6 separate regions of the Homo sapiens genome follow, and regions 1, 2, 3, 5 and 6 are each linked to region 4. The links are contacts of gene promoters, found by promoter capture Hi-C in blood cells and fetal thymus (Javierre and others, 2016). All regions are on one chromosome and are shown on one strand. Each heading gives the region's core, a stretch centred on a gene start or on the middle of the fragment in contact. The rest is flanking DNA. Distances are from core to core; before and after follow the strand shown.

The links. The method cuts DNA at HindIII sites, captures the fragments that hold promoters and counts their contacts. A CHiCAGO score of 5 or more calls a contact.
Region 1: a contact is called between a fragment that was not itself captured here and the fragment with the promoter of C7orf33 in region 4, in 11 of 17 cell types (activated CD4 T cells, naive CD4 T cells, total CD4 T cells and 8 more). The highest score is 12.6, in activated CD4 T cells.
Region 2: a contact is called between a fragment that was not itself captured here and the fragment with the promoter of C7orf33 in region 4, in 9 of 17 cell types (activated CD4 T cells, non-activated CD4 T cells, total CD4 T cells and 6 more). The highest score is 13.7, in activated CD4 T cells.
Region 3: a contact is called between a fragment that was not itself captured here and the fragment with the promoter of C7orf33 in region 4, in 4 of 17 cell types (activated CD4 T cells, naive CD8 T cells, non-activated CD4 T cells and 1 more). The highest score is 10.6, in activated CD4 T cells.
Region 5: a contact is called between a fragment that was not itself captured here and the fragment with the promoter of C7orf33 in region 4, in 8 of 17 cell types (non-activated CD4 T cells, naive CD4 T cells, activated CD4 T cells and 5 more). The highest score is 10.3, in non-activated CD4 T cells.
Region 6: a fragment that was not itself captured here is called in contact with the fragment with the promoter of C7orf33 in region 4 in 10 of 17 cell types (activated CD4 T cells, non-activated CD4 T cells, naive CD4 T cells and 7 more); the score reaches 14.4 in activated CD4 T cells.

What each region holds. Positions count from the first base shown.
Region 1 is chr7:148,737,203-148,739,902 of GRCh38, reverse strand. All of the region lies in intron 2 of CUL1 (cullin 1), which reads right to left. Among named protein-coding and RNA genes, the nearest start is that of CUL1, 40 kb to the right of the region's middle. The HindIII fragment of the contact is 238 bases long and covers 1,321-1,558 here.
Region 2 is chr7:148,814,106-148,816,831 of GRCh38, reverse strand. It overlaps EZH2 (enhancer of zeste 2 polycomb repressive complex 2 subunit), which reads left to right. Exons shown (of 20, transcript NM_004456.5): 12 at 54-148; 13 at 1,286-1,326; 14 at 1,793-1,918; 15 at 2,695-2,726. Among named protein-coding and RNA genes, the nearest start is that of EZH2, 69 kb to the left of the region's middle. The HindIII fragment of the contact is 1,769 bases long and covers 592-2,360 here.
Region 3 is chr7:148,790,309-148,793,008 of GRCh38, reverse strand. CUL1 (cullin 1) reads right to left here. Exons shown (of 22, transcript NM_003592.3): 16 at 2,568-2,699; 17 at 191-283. Among named protein-coding and RNA genes, the nearest start is that of EZH2, 93 kb to the left of the region's middle. The HindIII fragment of the contact is 2,765 bases long and covers 22-2,700 here.
Region 4 is chr7:148,589,365-148,592,064 of GRCh38, reverse strand. C7orf33 (chromosome 7 open reading frame 33) reads right to left here and starts at 1,299. Exons shown (of 3, transcript NM_145304.4): 1 at 936-1,299. The coding sequence starts at 1,139. The HindIII fragment of the contact is 1,806 bases long and covers 551-2,356 here.
Region 5 is chr7:148,832,541-148,835,241 of GRCh38, reverse strand. EZH2 (enhancer of zeste 2 polycomb repressive complex 2 subunit) reads left to right here. Exons shown (of 20, transcript NM_004456.5): 4 at 2,492-2,608. Among named protein-coding and RNA genes, the nearest start is that of EZH2, 50 kb to the left of the region's middle. The HindIII fragment of the contact is 3,642 bases long and covers 1-2,701 here.
Region 6 is chr7:148,761,413-148,764,327 of GRCh38, reverse strand. The region is part of intron 7 of CUL1 (cullin 1); the gene reads right to left. Among named protein-coding and RNA genes, the nearest start is that of CUL1, 64 kb to the right of the region's middle. The HindIII fragment of the contact is 4,501 bases long and covers 1-2,915 here.

The DNA.
Region 1 (2,700 bases), core at 190-2,689, 150 kb before region 4:
ACACCATATACAAAAGTTAACTCCAGGTGGATCACAGGTCTAAAAGTAAATGCCCAAACCATAAAGTCTTATGAGGAAAACACAAAATATATTTGAGATCTAGGCAAAGGTTTCTTATGTCACAGAGGCAATAACTGCAAAAATAAAATAAAACCAATAAATTAGGTTTCCCCAAAGTAAACATTTGCTCACCCAAAGACACCATTAAGAAAATGATTAGCAAGCCTCAGACTTGAAGAAAATATTAGCAAAATATATCTGACAAAACACTGGTATCCTTGACATATAAAGAACTAAAACTAACAAAAAGCAAAATATCCCCAAAATGGAAAAAACAGGAGGCGAAAGACTTGGACACTTTACAAAAGATGACATACGAATGGTCAACGAGCATATAAAAAGGTGCTCAACGGACACGAAGTTTACATGGCAGCCCGAGAGGTGCCCCCGGTTTAGGGCACCTTCGCCTAAAGAACAGGATCAACTGTGCTTTGAATCCAGGCTGAGTCAGCAGAGGCAGGAGTGAAAGCAGATCTTATATAGCTCTGATGACACACAGTCTTAGCTTCACAGTATTTTTATCTCAGCTTTAAATCAACTGAACTATATGGAGAAATGTTATCAGAAATGGAATGAGCAGGCTCTTCATGTGATCAGAAGCTGCCTGAGGGAGATCTGTCCAGGCCACCAGCCCCTCCTCACACCTCACTGGTATGAGACCTGAGGAAAAAGCGCTATTGGGATAATTCAAGTGTATTATCTGGAAGGGGAGAATTCCCCATGTTCAAGGAAGGACTGTGAAACGGATGTATTCCTGAATTATGAGGTGTGCCATTTTCCTGAAGAATGAGCCCTGAAGGGCGCCTGTGTGAAAGGACAGGGCCGGAGCCTCCCCGCTGCTCTCTATGCCTGGGCTCCTGCTGCTCCCTGAACCCACCGCCCCCCACAATGCCACACTCACCACCTGTTGCCTCAACATGCACACAAATTAAGTGTTCATAAATCATTTACTTTAGAAGAGTAGAAAAACGAACTATGACTAATCTTTAGGAGAAAAATGGTCACATCTAAAGTTATTCTTAAAGGGAAAAAAAATTAAAACAGTATGAGGACAAGTTAAATATAGGAATTAAGATGAAATAAGAAAAAGCAAAAACATCAGAGATAAAAAATTAAAAGTCTACAAGGCAATAAAATAGAAGTTTCATTCAGCAGACAATAGATTAGGTATTTTATACTAAGGCAGCCATAGACTCTAACAAACCCATACATTTGACTTTTAAAACTCTGAGGTTCTTTGCTGAAGGTCCTCTGAAAGCTTCTTTGGCCAGAAAGCAGGTGAGAACGTAAGCAGGTATCTGGGGCCTCCTCCGCAGGCAGGTGGGGAAATGGTGTAAGGTGGTACAGGGGTTTATGTCCAAGAGCCAAGCCTGGTTCAGCCTCCAAAATAGGTCCTACAACTCTTCTGTCATCCTAGAAACGTTGTCTGCCAAGGCATGCTTCTGTACTGATGGGGAGGGGCAAGTCACTGTGAAAGGGTCCTATCAGATGCAAAGCTTCACATCTCACCTTTCAGCAAGCAGACACCTTCTGGGCACCTGTCCAGTGCCAGGTACCATGTGTGTGACTTAGGCCTCACCAACAGACTGCCTTCCTGGAGTTCAGCATCTACTACTAACGTAATATAAAGTGAGCAGCAGGATGACGGAGCCAGTATTCTCAAATGTCTCTGTTACCCACAGCACCATGCCTTATTTCTGAAGTGAACACACCTGGGGAATCAATTCTTGACTTTTAGTTATTGCCAAACTCCAACCATTCTCATTAGCTAAAAGAAAAGCCAATTCAATCAAAGAAGCAAAACTAAACAGAACAGAATCACTTCCTACTACCACTTGTTTCCCAAATGCGACTTAAGAAGTGGAAATTTAAACAAGTAACTTCTATTAAAATCACATGGAAAGACTCTGCACTAAAAGTTTTATTAAAAATACAGTACTTCCTAGGCTGGGTGTGGTGGCTCACCCCTGTAATCCCAGCACTTTGGGAGGCCGAGGTGAACAGATTGCTTGAGGTCAGGAGCTCAAGACCAGCCTGGCTAACATGAAACCCCGTATCTACTAAAAATACAAAAATTAGCTGGGCATGGTGGCACGCACCTGTAATCCCAGCCACTCGGGAGGCTGAGGTATGAGAATTGCTTGAACCCAGGAGGCGGAGGTTGCAATGAGCCAAGATTGCACCACTGCACTCCAGCCTGGGCAACAGAGTGAGGCGCCCTCTGAAAATAAATAAATAAATAAATAAATAAATAAATAAATAAATATAAAAATATATATATATACACACACACACATATATCGTACTTCCTATCTTCAAACATTAACAAGTTAACCTGTACCAAATGGCAGAACAGCAGGCTCACATACTATCCTGTATAATCCGTCTGTAGTTATAAAAGAATAAAGTCCTGTCCAGTCTGTGGGTACGTGCATTTCTGAAAAGAAATATCCCATACAAAGCAAATAAATTCACATCTAATAGCATACTTCAAAAGTAAAAACTAATTGCAATTGATTATAATGAACTAAAAAATGTGTTACATAATGTTCAAAGTACTCTGAGTATAATTACCGTGAATCAAACTTTGAAAAATAGCTGAAGAACATGCCATATTTATACTAACCGCCTACCCCACCA
Region 2 (2,726 bases), core at 227-2,726, 220 kb before region 4:
GGTTTGCCTAAATAAGACTGTCCTCATGGCTCTGTGACTGTGCCTCTTGTCAGGTGTATGAGTTTAGAGTCAAAGAATCTAGCATCATAGCTCCAGCTCCCGCTGAGGATGTGGATACTCCTCCAAGGAAAAAGAAGAGGAAACACCGGTGAGTCTGTCATGAAGCTCCTTAGAGAAGTCAACATAGATAGACACTGCAGGCAAGGCCCTTCCTAAGGGCTGTTGTTGGTTTCTACTTAGTCTATTTTTAAAAAACCTTAAACTGCCATCAAAAACAGAACTATGGAATCTTATTTCCACTGGGAATTGCTAGTATTTTTCTATAAGAATACAGCAGCCTTCAGTATATTTGGTATGTTAAGAGTCATAAAAATTACGGTTACCAGACTGCATTTGGGTTAAGAAAAACATATTTAGTAGCTTTTGCAGTAAAGGTTACGTAAACAATTACTTTAACATCATGAAATGTTCTGTGTTTCTGATGTGAGCTCTGGGCCAGTTTTTAGAAGTATCTTTTATTCCAGGAGCTTGAATTTCTAAGTTGTGTGGCATTGCATTCCGATACTCCTAATGGGTACCCTACTTTAAGCTTGTGTGAATGTTATTTTCACCTTAGCGAATGTTTTCAGGCTGATTTGATTTGTAAATGTAGAACCAGAAAAATTGATGAGTGGACTATCTGCTCTAATCTCCCCATACCTCTACCTCACATTTTTAAAAATGAGAAACCTAATTGGGTAGGTAAGGGTGCAGTTAGATTATGCTTCTTAAATTGTGTACAGGCTCATGTTACATTTTCTTACTTTAACAAAAATAAGTGTAGGGCCAACCCAATTTAGAATTTTTTTAAAGTCAAGTTTTTATTTTTATTTTTTAGGCTTTAGGAGATGCTTCTGAAATTTTGGTTGAATTATTTCTGACCACGTAGTTCACTTGCTTGGTTTATGATGCCTGAAATAAGAGGAAGTGATCAGTGTCATCCACATCAGAATAAATCAACAGGCAGACACACCTGCTGCTTTGTGCAGCATTGGGAGCTCAGGAGTTCTGACCAGGAGTCATGGATGAACACAGGAAATGACGTCTTGCCACACCTGGGGCAGCCTGAGCCATCAAGCTGTTTGAGTTGCTTCAAACTGATGGCAAATATAAACTGGGCAGGGCATGACTCTTGGCTTTAACGCATTCCTGTATTCATGGCACAGATAGATCCAGTTAAGCAGCTCTCTGTTGGATTTGTAGCTTCCCGCAGAAATTTGGTTTAATTTTCTTTGTGTTTTTGCAGGTTGTGGGCTGCACACTGCAGAAAGATACAGCTGAAAAAGGGTTAGCATCTTTCCATTCCTCTCATTATTAGCTTAACAATATCTGCTTTGTTTTCATTTGTTTTAGAATAGTAACTGGATTAGAGCTTGGGTTATTCTAATATAATTGCCTTCTGTATGTTAAACCAATTTGAATGGAGGACGTCTACTGATGAATCCCCAGTCAATTCTCTTCTGTAAAGTGGAGGCTGACTGGAAGGTGTGAGTCCGAGTCAGTTGAAGGAGAAGTGCTTTGGGATGGGACTGAGATGTAGCCGTGCTTTAGATGGAACTCATAAGCACTTGGGGGTGGGAGAGTATTTTTTGCCATCGTTGTGGAAACCGGAATATGTGTAATGTTATGCATTCAGTAAAGGCAGGCCAGCTACACTCCACAGGTAGTAGGGAAGAATGTACTCGTGTTAATTGTGTATGATCGTTTCCATCTCCCTGGATTCATTGGCCTGCATGATGTTATCTTTACTCAGACGGCTCCTCTAACCATGTTTACAACTATCAACCCTGTGATCATCCACGGCAGCCTTGTGACAGTTCGTGCCCTTGTGTGATAGCACAAAATTTTTGTGAAAAGTTTTGTCAATGTAGTTCAGAGTGTAAGTATTTGTTGCTTTGATGCAATTGCATGAGAACTAAATAGGTCTTTGGTTAGCAATTTAAAAAATCAAAAATAAGAACATGGGAGCACTCCCTTGTTTACTTGACGAAACTCATCAATTTGACAAGTATTTATTGAGCCCCATACCTGGCCCTGTGCCAGTGGCCAGTCAGTCGCCTGGGTGTTGTGTGTCTGTGTGTGTGAGGCAGGCAAAGTTGTATTAAAGGAACCTGAATTTTATTTTTTTCTTCTTTGATCATTTAAATTAAGTTGTATTAAAGTTGGCACAGATTGTAAGAGGAATCTAGAAGGAGCTACCCAAATAATTTTTGGGCACCAGAAATCGTCAGAGTTAGGAGGGTTTTAGTCTTCAGATTAAAGGAATGTAGCATAAACATAGTAGATTTTTATAATTGTTTAATGAGACTGCACATGAAGCTTGGGTATTAAGGGAGTGTTTAGAACTAGGGGCTATTGGAATGGTCAAGGACCATGGATATTGTTCCATCCAGACCCTTTATTCACACCGACTTTAAATATATACACTATTTAACAAATGAAAAATGGAAAAACAACTCAGTGGTGGTCTTTTTCAGTGCAAACAGCTATAACTTCGCTGTTAATACTTCCATTTCCTTGTCTATATAGTAGGGTAATAAGGTGGTTGTGAGGGTTGAGAGTCAGTGAGATGCCCAGTACAGCCCTTGCCACGTATCTTTCTGCAAGTTTTTGCATACGGTGATGAGTGAAGAACCTCCAAACCTCTCTCTGAAGGTCAAAACCGCTTTCCGGGATGCCGCTGCAAA
Region 3 (2,700 bases), core at 155-2,654, 200 kb before region 4:
AATGAGTTTTAACATGAAGCTTTTTGTAGTGCGTATTAAAATCCTGGAATAAGGCCATATTCATATTCATGAGGCAAACATCTATTTCAAATTAAAGATGCCCATATCCTCTTCCTTATCTTTCCTAACAATATCCACGAGAACAAGGAAACGGCAAGCTGATAGAACAACGAGCCTGAGATGAGAATACCATTTTAATTTGAGTGCTGTCGGTCAGCTGCTGCACAGTGTAGGCATCTTCCGTGTTGTACTGAAGCAGGATAGCCATCTGGAATGTCGACGCCTTTGCGGCCCCCCATATAAAAGAAAAAGAAGGAAAATTTACATGCATGGAAACACCTCCCAAAATATACAGCCCAAGTTTGAAGAACTTATTTATGAAACAAATTCTTTAAACAAGTACAAAAAAAGCACAGATCTATTTAAAAGGGAATATAAAACGTGGCAATGCCACTACAATGCAACATTTTCCCAAAGTCATTCATTTTCCATGTTTACAAACATTAAAATAATTTGAGGGTTTTTTTTAAAAAACGTATTGTCTATGTGGATACATACTATAGATACGTCCCCACGCATTTATAGAGACAATCACATATACACACACCTGGTATATATGGACATGTTAAGCATCAATCTCCAAATCTGTTTTTGGCACATGAGCTAAGGAATATTATCTTTTGGCACATTATTGATGTAAAACAACACAAATATCAAATTATATTTGGTTTTCTAATCCTAAGTACTTTACTATGAAAGTATGAAAAAAGTAAGTAAAGTATGAAATGGCAAGTGTACTAAATTTCTATTTTTTTTTTTTTTTGAGACAAAGTCTTGCTCTGTCACCCAGGCTGGAGTGCAGTGGCACAATCTCGACTCACTGCAACCTCCGCCTCCCAGGTTCAAGGGATTCTCCTGCCTTGGCCTCCAGAGTAGCTGGGGCTATAGGCGTGCACCACCACACCCAGCTAATTTTTGTATTTTAGTAGAGATGGGGTTTCGCCATGCTGGCCAGGCTGGTCTCGAACTCCTGACCTTGTGATCTGCCTGCCTTGGCCTCCCAAAGTGCTAGGATTACAGGCTGAGCCACTGCACCCGGCCCTAAAGTATCTTCTAAAAGACAGGTAGCACGTGTTGGTTCCTGATTGCTGAGTGTGTGCAAGCGAATGAACACCCCGAGGACGCCTTCCTTCTCTTCTCCCTGTTTTCTTGCATAATCGACAGCAACAAGTAATGACCCATGACTGTCAGTCACTGCTTGCCTCTCGGCAAGACCTTGGTCAATGGAAAGAGAAACAAAAAACGCCACATGCCTGTTTCAGGGCGGCCCACAGACAACACTGCTTCCAGGGCCTTGAACAGAGATACAAGGGAACGAGCGTGTTGCTAATGTTTTCTATTGGGCCCGCTCCGGGCTGCCTTAACACGGCAGACACACCCTAGGCAAAGCCTCCACCGTCAAAAACTGGACACTGAAATTCCAGGTACTGTAGTGGAACACATGGATTCTTCTATGTATATTTGGGGATAAATGAAACAAAATTTCAATTGTATAGTAAGAAACATTCAAGTTGATAAAGACCTCTGGAGCCAGCATAATACTATGCATTTTAACAATTTTAAGTCACAGTAGATTTACGAAAAGTTTAAATTAATGAGCAGCTTGAGTCTGCAGAACAACCCATTCTGGAGTTTCTTAATACTTAAACACAGATTTGCAATTCTTCTTAGAAACTCACTGGTGAAAACTTCTCAGAGACTAAAATATGCCATTACTTGTGAAGACCACTCAGTACAAAAGTGGAAGTAGAAAGAGCTTGGACTTTTTTTTCTTTTTACTTTAAAAAATATCTAGAGATGGGGTCTTGCTATGTTGTCCAGGCTTGTCTCAAACTCCTAGCCTCAAGTGATTCTCTGGTCTCAGCCTCCCAAAGCGTGAGGATTACAAGCGTGAGCCACCACACCAGCCCAAGCCTAGACTTTAAGAGAAAAGACTTTAACTGAAATTTTGGCTCAGCTACATATAAGCTAGGATTCAGAGAAATTCACTTAAATTAACCCAAGCCTCAGTTTTCTCCTCTAAGAAATGGAAATATTCTTAGTTACATAGGTATAAATTAGGTTGTACTCAATATTGTTGTCAGCACTGAGTGTTATTAATGTGAAAGTGCTCTGTGTAAGGTGGAGAGCTGATATAATGAAATGCATGCAACTCCAGCTTTTGAAGTCACTACCTGAACAGCTGATGTGTGTCAGGCAGGAGCGGTGCCAAACACTTACTAAATACATTATTTAATTTTCACATCAATTCCCAACTATAAAGTACTAACACTCCCATTAATGGAGGAGAAAACTGAGGCTCACAATCATTAAATAACTTGCTCCCCAGCCAGAAAGAATTGGAATTTGGTTCATCTGATTCTTACAACTCCATGCTTTAAACCTGCCACTATTTCACCAGAAGCTGAATTCTAGATTCTGCTGCTGAGTCAGCTGATAATGATTTCCATAATTTGCCTTATGTTCATTTAGAATAGAAAAATTTTAAGATAAAAATGTGATCTTACCTGCAAAGTATATCTGTTTTTGAAGCAGTTAGTTACCAATTCTCCTTTAGACAACTGATATAACCACGTCAATTTTCGGCCACTGTGGCGGCTGGCGTAGAAAGCTGTGAATCGCTGATAACTACGTTCCAAC
Region 4 (2,700 bases), core at 50-2,549:
ACATGGGAGAAAACAAATTAGGGCTGGAGAACTAGGTGGGGACACCTGTGGTTCCCATCAAACTGAACACCCAAAGCTGGAGATAAATACAAAGTGGGAGCTCATACTTTAACCAAAAATGCCTGCCTAGTGGGAGGCAGGGGCTTGGGGATCAGGAGGTGTCAAAGATCAAAGACAGGCAAAGAGTTAAGGATCCAGGTCTTGCTGGGCATGGGTGGCACTTCGGGATGTTGAAGTGGGAGGATCGTTTGAGGACAGGAGTTCAAGACCAGCCTGGGCAACATGGCAAGACCCCATTTCTACAAAAAATAAAAAAATTAGCTAAGCCTGATGGCACATGGCTGTAGTCCTAGCCACCCGGGAGGCTCCTCTGGGAGGATCACTTGAAGCCAGGAGGTTGATGCTGCAGTGAGCTATGATTGTGACACTGCACTCCAGCCTGGGTGACAGAGCAAGATACTATCTCTAAAACAACAACAACAACTCCTGGTCTTTAAAGCGAGAGAAGAGACAAGAATCTAGGCAAGGAGAAGGGAACAGGTGCAAAGCTTGTGCCAAAGGGTGACCAAGATAGAGGCTTCCTGTGGACCCATCTCCAGGGCAAAACATAGTCTGAGAACAAGCGCATTCCTTCTACCACACTGTGTGAAAATATACAATTTTTACGCTGGAATTTTTCAAATCAACATGACTCAGGCTAAACACAAGAATACTCAGTGGAGTGTTTTGTGAGGATTCTTTTCCCTAAGAAGATTCCAGGCCTTCTTTGGGGCAGTGAATTAATCTCTGTCTCTCTCTTTACTTCAATGTCGTTAAGCCCAGTTCCATAACACATAGTAGAGAGTCAAAAACATTCATGGATTGAGTGAATGAATTCTCAAGAGATACTGACTGACTCAAAGAGCAGTTGATTCATCTTAGAATCATTAACTTACCTTATGTCTTCCCGTGGCATATGACAAGTTAAATTGACCTGGACCGCCCCTAACGTGGACCCAAACAGCGACTGCCCTCCCACTCAGGCGAAGGTCAATCCGGCGCCTTGCCCCACTGGGCAGGAGGGCTTCACATTCACATTGGGGGCCTGGAAGTCTCCAGGGACACTCTTCAAGGCTGAGGCTTTGAACTTCCACTTGCATTTTGGCAAAGGTAATTACCTTTCCTGGATGCTGTCAAGGAGAGCGGCGCTTCACCACCAATATCTAAGATCAAGTCGCACGGATCCCCAGGGTCAGTAGGAGGATTCAGACACAGGCTGGGCGCCTCGCTCCTGACCACTGGATTGGCATCACCATAAGTAAGGTCACAGCTGAGTAGAAAATGCCTGAGGCAAAGTGGGGGTGAAAGAGGGGCCACCGAGCAGTGTGATAGGCAGCCCCTTCCGCCAGCTCATTATCCCCACCTGCTCCTGTCGTCTCCTATTAGAATCCTAATGCGAGTTTACGGAAAGTCAGCTGGAGCTTGTCCTCCATGTAATTCAGATCACGTTGCCTGCAGCTCTTAGGTACTCAAATAAACAGAAGGACTAATATTACTACTGAAAAAGTAATTAAGGGCATTCATTGTAAAGTAATAATGATTACCTCACCCTCACCATATGGCCAGAACTGATTAACACCTAGAAGAAATGATCTAAAACCTCTACAATCAGAATTAATGTCTCAGGTCATAATGAGAAACATTTTGTAGCGGGGTTTGGCAGGGAAGGATGAAAAAGTGGTTGGGAGTTTACTAAATCAAGAGGCACAAACAAAATATTGAGGATAACATCCTTTTTCAGGATTTTTCATCTCATTCAGATTAGACAAGTTGCATTTTTAGTGTAGAACCCATATCACAAATGCAAAAAATATTACAAGATTTACACATTGGAATTGTCACTTAATTGGATGAGTTTTTCCTCCATTGTTTCTTTTATAATGATGAGGAATTGATGGAAGAATCTCCATCGAGGCTGGCAGTTTCTTAAATCACCAGGGAAGGGCTTAGCCCACTGATTGAAAATCTTCTTATCGTAAATTACTGGTTAAAATGCTATTTGTTGTCAGGAGTATCATGGAGTGTGATTTAATCTCTTAAGATTAGTTAAAGTGGTAGAAATGTTAGCATTTCTGGGTAATGCCAAACAGGTTAGCATTACAAAAGATGCCTAGAAAGATACGGACCCATTTGGAAGACAAGGTTGCTGTAAAAGCCAGTTTGCAGGTGCACCGTGGGGGGTGACAGGATGCCCTGGGCTGTTCTTGATTAGTGCGTGTGCCCTAGGGTCATGTGGTGAAGCATAAGGAAGCAGAATTTGGGATATTTTTCCCACCAGAATCCCTAAGATTACTCTGTGTACTGCTGGGGAAAAGCTTAATGGGCTCAACACCACCCTTGAGGGAAGGCAATAATGGAATCTCTTTTTTCTGCAAATACTTCCTTGGGTGGTGCATCATGATTCCCTGAGGCAGGATTTCCTGCAGCAGAGCTGGAGGGGCTGGAGGGGCTGGTGGGGCTGGTGGGGCTGGTGGGGCTGGAGGGGCCAGAGGGGCTGGTGGGGCTGGTGAGTCTAGAGGTGCTGGAGTTCCAAGAACTTGGCCTGGAATCTTGAACCTGCAGCCATACATTCGGACTCTAGCTTTGCCTTTTTACTTATCTGTCTTTGACCACTAAAGAAATAGACAGACCTCATAATATTATTTCCTCGACTGCCTCTTA
Region 5 (2,701 bases), core at 86-2,585, 240 kb before region 4:
CCCCATGTTGCCCAGGCTGGTCTTGAACTTCTGGGCTCAAGCGATCTGCCCGTCTTGGCCTGCCAAAGTGCTGAGATTATACGCTTGAGCCACTGTGCCCAGCCATGTCTCTGTTTTATATAGTAAATACTGCATGGCTGTAATTGTTATTTTACCCCATGAGCATTGCAAGGGCAAGAACTACAGTGCAGTAATTAATTAAGCTCACGGGTGTTGCAGTCAGACTTTAAATCCAGGTTTTAATCCTGGTTTTGTAATTTGCTACCTTTCTGACTAGACAAATTGTATAACTTCTCTGAACCTCAGTGTCCTCATTTGTGAAGTTTTGATGCTAAAACTACACCATAAGGTTGTAATGAGGAATAATTAAGATAATATATACAAGCACTTAGCACAGTGCCTGCAACATAGTACGTGCTCAATAAATGTTAACTGCTGTTTTTATTGGATTATTGGATGGATGGATGAAGGATTGTATCAGAGGCCAAATAGCAGGAAGGGGAAAGATTGTGGGCTCTGGAGTGTTAGTAAACTGTTCACACCTTCTTGTTTACTCGAGTTAAGAGCCTTATTAGTATTATTACCTTTATCTTTGCCTTTTTGGAAAGCAAATTAATAGATGAATCACTGTCACAGTTCTTCCTAACTACTCCATCCTTAAACCTTTACTTCCACTAAGGAAGGAATTATTTTTGTGCTGCAGTGACTGTGATGATTGAGAGATTATCCCACTGGCCTGATGCAACCCAATGCTGAGGGTCAGGTGTGGCCCATATGCCAGATTTCTACTCTGAATTTCACCACAACTAGTTCTGCTATTTTTAAGACATTTTAAATAAAAAATTTAAACATTTAATATGTGTGTGTGTGTGTGTGTGTGTGTGTGTGTATATATATATATATAATGATTTTTCAGTTTCATTTTACTACACTTCTTTTTTGCTCTATTTTCATTGATTGTGGATTATGAATGTATGTCTAGGATATTTTTGAGAAGGCTCTGGAGGACTTACACCTGGGCAGTAGTACTCTTTAAGGAATCTCGGATTCGTAGACAGGGTGGAAAGTGCTGTGGTTATTTAGGCACAGAGTTATACCATATTTCAGAGAATCAAAGATGCAAAATTTTTCACATTTTAACATTGGAAACAACATGCATCTTAGAATCACTGTGATAAGAATGGATTATACCTTTGTTTAGTTGGCAGCATTTTTTCTTAGTGATACAGAAGATAATGATGTACCTTGAAATCGCTGTCATCATAGATTGTATGAAATATGGTGTTTCAAGGGACTATGTGCACTGACACATTTTAGCAATATGGTATCATGGCAATATAAGGAGCGGGAAGAGCAGGGGCTCCAGAGTCAGGCTTTTGGAGTTTACATTCTAGCCCGAGAACCATGCGCAACTTTGGGCAAGCTACTTATCCTTTCTTTTCTATAGTTTTCTCACCTGTAAAATGGGGGCTAAGAGTAGTACCCATCTTACAGTGTTGTAATGAGGATTAAATAGAAGACATGTAATGTGTTTAAAATAGCCTAGCACATAGAAAGTACTTAGTAATCAGCTAATATTATTAATTCAGAGATTACAGTTTTGCAGAATAGACTTAAATTTACTTTGTTGTGATTGAAACACAAACCCATTACCCTTAATATTTATGTATCATCTGATAATATCAGCAATTGACACTTAGATTTTAAAAAAGGAAGATAAGGAAGATTAACTGAACAAGTTTTCTTATTCTTTTTATTTTATTTTATTTTATTTTTTTTTTTTTTGAGACGGAGTTTCGCTCTGTCGCCCAGGCTGGAGTGCAGTGGCGCGATCTCGACTCACTGCAAGCTCCGCCTCCCGGGTTCACGCCATTCTCCTGCCTCAGCCTCCCGTGTAGCTGGGACTACAGGCGCGCGCCACCATGCCTGGCTAATTTTTGTATTTTTAGTAGAGACGGGGTTTCACCGTGTTAGCCAGGATGGTCTCGATCTCCTGACCTCGTGATCCGCCCGTCTCGGCCTCCCAAAGTGCTGGGATTACAGGCGTGAGCCACCGCGCCCGGCCCAAGTTTTCTTATTCTTATTAAGTAAGATTTAAGTGGCTTATTTGGTATACATATTACTATTCTGTGTGGTTGGAATGTAAGAGAAATGAAGGATGAGCTAGGAAATAAATGTATAGGAAAAGCATGGAGGAGTTAATCAGATCGCTGAATCTCATATAAGTACAGTTTTTGATTCTTACTGATATTGGTAAGTATGGGAAGGGTTGGAGGTTTTGAAAATTTGGAAAATTTGAAGCATTTTTGCACCCTAAGTAAAAGAAAAGAGAGAATCCTATTTGGTTTATATGACCACTTTACTGTCCTAGGTAAGGACTTTTTTTTCAAAATTAAATATTTGGGTAGGCAGCATCTCTTTACAATATGATGGCTACAGCTTAAGGTTGTCCTTTTATTCTTAAGAGTCAATTTTATTTTTTCTGTTTTAGTGTTCGGTGACCAGTGACTTGGATTTTCCAACACAAGTCATCCCATTAAAGACTCTGAATGCAGTTGCTTCAGTACCCATAATGTATTCTTGGTCTCCCCTACAGCAGAATTTTATGGTATGTAAATAAGATATCTTCTGCTTATTTGATAATAACTTATTTGAAGTAAAAAAGCATAGATAATTTTATTGTCAAGGTGAATCAAGACAG
Region 6 (2,915 bases), core at 329-2,828, 170 kb before region 4:
AGGTTCTCTAATGATTCCAAGTCAAATAGGCTCCTGATCATCACTGTACTTGGCAGACTGTTGTATTAGAACACCAAGGTCAAATTCAAATGACTAAATAAAAGTATGCAATTAAAGATGGTCTTTATTAATTCACTAGGATCGGTTCTCAGTAAAAACAAAAGGAAAATAAAAACCAAAAAAGACAAGCAAATTAATGAAGTATGGTATATTTTTAAAGTTTTTAAAAAATGACATTAGAAACCTACAGTAGTCATACAGAGTTTCTGTAGCTCAGATCAGTCTCAATCGCATGAGACAGTCAAATCTTTTAGAAACACTAACATGGTTCACTCTTCAAAGCCATCCTTGGAAAGACAAGCCAAATATTCTTAGATGTTTCCTGTAAAACACTCCTAATAGAGAAAAGTGAACACAGACCCAGGGAATTTGAACTGCTCTCAACTGGCTAGAATTTGCAGAGTATTTCTTGAAGGGTCATGTTTTATCTCATAGTTGTTCTATTTCCTGATAGAATGTTTGTTGTAATGTAAACACAATTGCTCCCTAAGTTATTGAGTAAGATTTGCCACCCTTTATCCTGTGGTTTTGCATCCTCCCAGGCATACACTGGAGGTTTTGTGGGATGTATATTTGTAATACCAAATACATTAGCTTTGCTCTTTGCCACACACCAATCTAAGCACCTTTTAACAAATAAATACCTCATGTTAAAATTTGTAAATACTAAAGCTCACTTAATCCTCATTATTACCTATTATTATTATTCACATTTTACAGATAAGGAATTTGAGGAACAGAAGCATTAAGGTCATCCCCCTAATAAATGGTGGGGTGGGGATTTAAAAATAGACTCATAGCTCAGTTTGAGATGCAAGGCTATAGGATGAGAGCAGAATTACATGGTCAAATTCCAGTTTTATGCTTATAGACTCTCTGCATTATCATCTTTCAGAATATGATGGAAGTCGTGTTTGGTGTGATCCAAGTGGATCCGGGCCAAACCTTTAACTCTTCTAGAAATGAATCCCCTCTATGGGAACCAGGATGTAGGAAGCACACTGCTTCCTTGAAGGCGGGCCTCATGCTGGATTGAAAACATCGAGGCCATTGGAAATTCTTGCTCCTCAACCGTCTTTGGTGTCAGGCCTGGTTTTATTTTTATTTTTATTTTTTTTTTTGAGACAGAGTCTCACTCTGTTGCCCAGGCTGGAGTGCAATGGCGCGATCTCGGCTCACTGCAACCTCCGCCTCCCAGGTTCAAGTGATTCTCCTGCCTCAGCTTCCCAAGTAGCTGGGATAACAGGCGTCCGCCACCACACTTGGCTAATTTTTGTATTTTTATTAGAGAGAGGGTTTCACCATGCTGGCCAGGCTGGTCTCGAACTCCCGACCTCAGGCAATCTGCCCACCTCGGCCTCCCAAAGTGCTAGGATCACAGGCGTGAGCCACCGCGCCCGGCCTAGGCCTGGTTTTAAAAACAGATTTACCTGTTCTGGGAGTGCTTCAGTAGCTCTGCCCTAGAACACTGGTTTCCTTGCCCTAGAGCACTACTACTTCATCAGTGTGGACAAAGGAGATGACCACAATCCTCTAATAAACCCATAAAAAGAACAGGCTCGCGCCACTGTCGTGGATGTGCATCTGGATAAGAGGTCTTTGGGATATATAGTTTTAAAAGAATCACCATATACAGCAGAGTTTCATAAGAGAAGTGTTTAGGAATACAACACTGTCATATTAAACAATGAAATAACAGGCAATGTTAACGTTTAAAACAGACTGTTTCAAAAGTTCATTTGTTAGGCAGTTGTTTGAAACTCTGGGTGAGCTGGTTAGGTTCCAGATTGGCATAGGAAAGTCAATTTAGCCCACCATTATACACAAGGAACCATTAATATTCCAAGTATAATACCCCGAATAGTTCCATTTTTGTTAGATTTTGAGATAGCAGAGATTTGTCAAGGACTTTCAACTTCAAACTTCTAAGCCCATTTATAACCACTATCTCCTATAGGAAAATGCATTCAGGTCACCACAAACAAACCGGATAGGACTTTCTCTATGAGGTTAGAGCAGAGCTGTTGCTTTTAATTGACTTTCTATCTCAGCATACGGAAAAGAGATTCCGCAGTCCATTCATACTCCAAGTGAACAGGGAATACAGGGCAAGCAGGTGTCAGGCTTGGAAAGATCCAGACTCCTGGAGATCTCCTAGTACAAGGATCCTCAATCGCTGGCTGTGGGCCAGTATGGGTCTGTGGCCTGTTAGGAACTGGGCCGCACAACAGGAGGTGACCAGCATATGAGTGAGCATTACTACCTGAGCTCCGCCTCCTGTCAGATCAGGGACGGCATTAGATTCTCATAGGAGCTCGAACCCTACTGTGAACTACACACGTGAGGGATCTATGTTGCACGCTCCTTTGATCTGAGGTGGAACAGTTTCGTCCCAAAACCATCCCCCTTCTTCCCCCAGCCACCGTCTGTGATGCCAAAAGGGTTGGGGACCATTGTCCTAGTACAGCTAGGTCAAGGGTCAGCAAACTGTAGCCTGTAGGCCAAATTCTGCCTGCCTGCCTTTTTCTGTAAATAAAGTTTTATTGGAACCCGGCCACACTCAGTTGTGTACATATCCCACTGGCTGCTTTGTGCTGCAATGGCAGAGTTGAACAGCTGCAAAAGAGATCACATAGCTCACAAAGCCTAAAGTATTTCCTTTCTAGCCCTTTACAAGATAAGTTTGCTGACTCCAGACCTAGGTCATTCCTTAGAGTCTAAATCCAGGATATCCATATTTCTTTTTCTTTTTCTTTTGAGACAGAGTCTCACTCTGTCACCCAGGCTGGAGGGCAGTGGCACAATCTCGGCTCACTGCAACCTCCGCCTCCCAGGTTCAAGCGATTCTCCTGCTT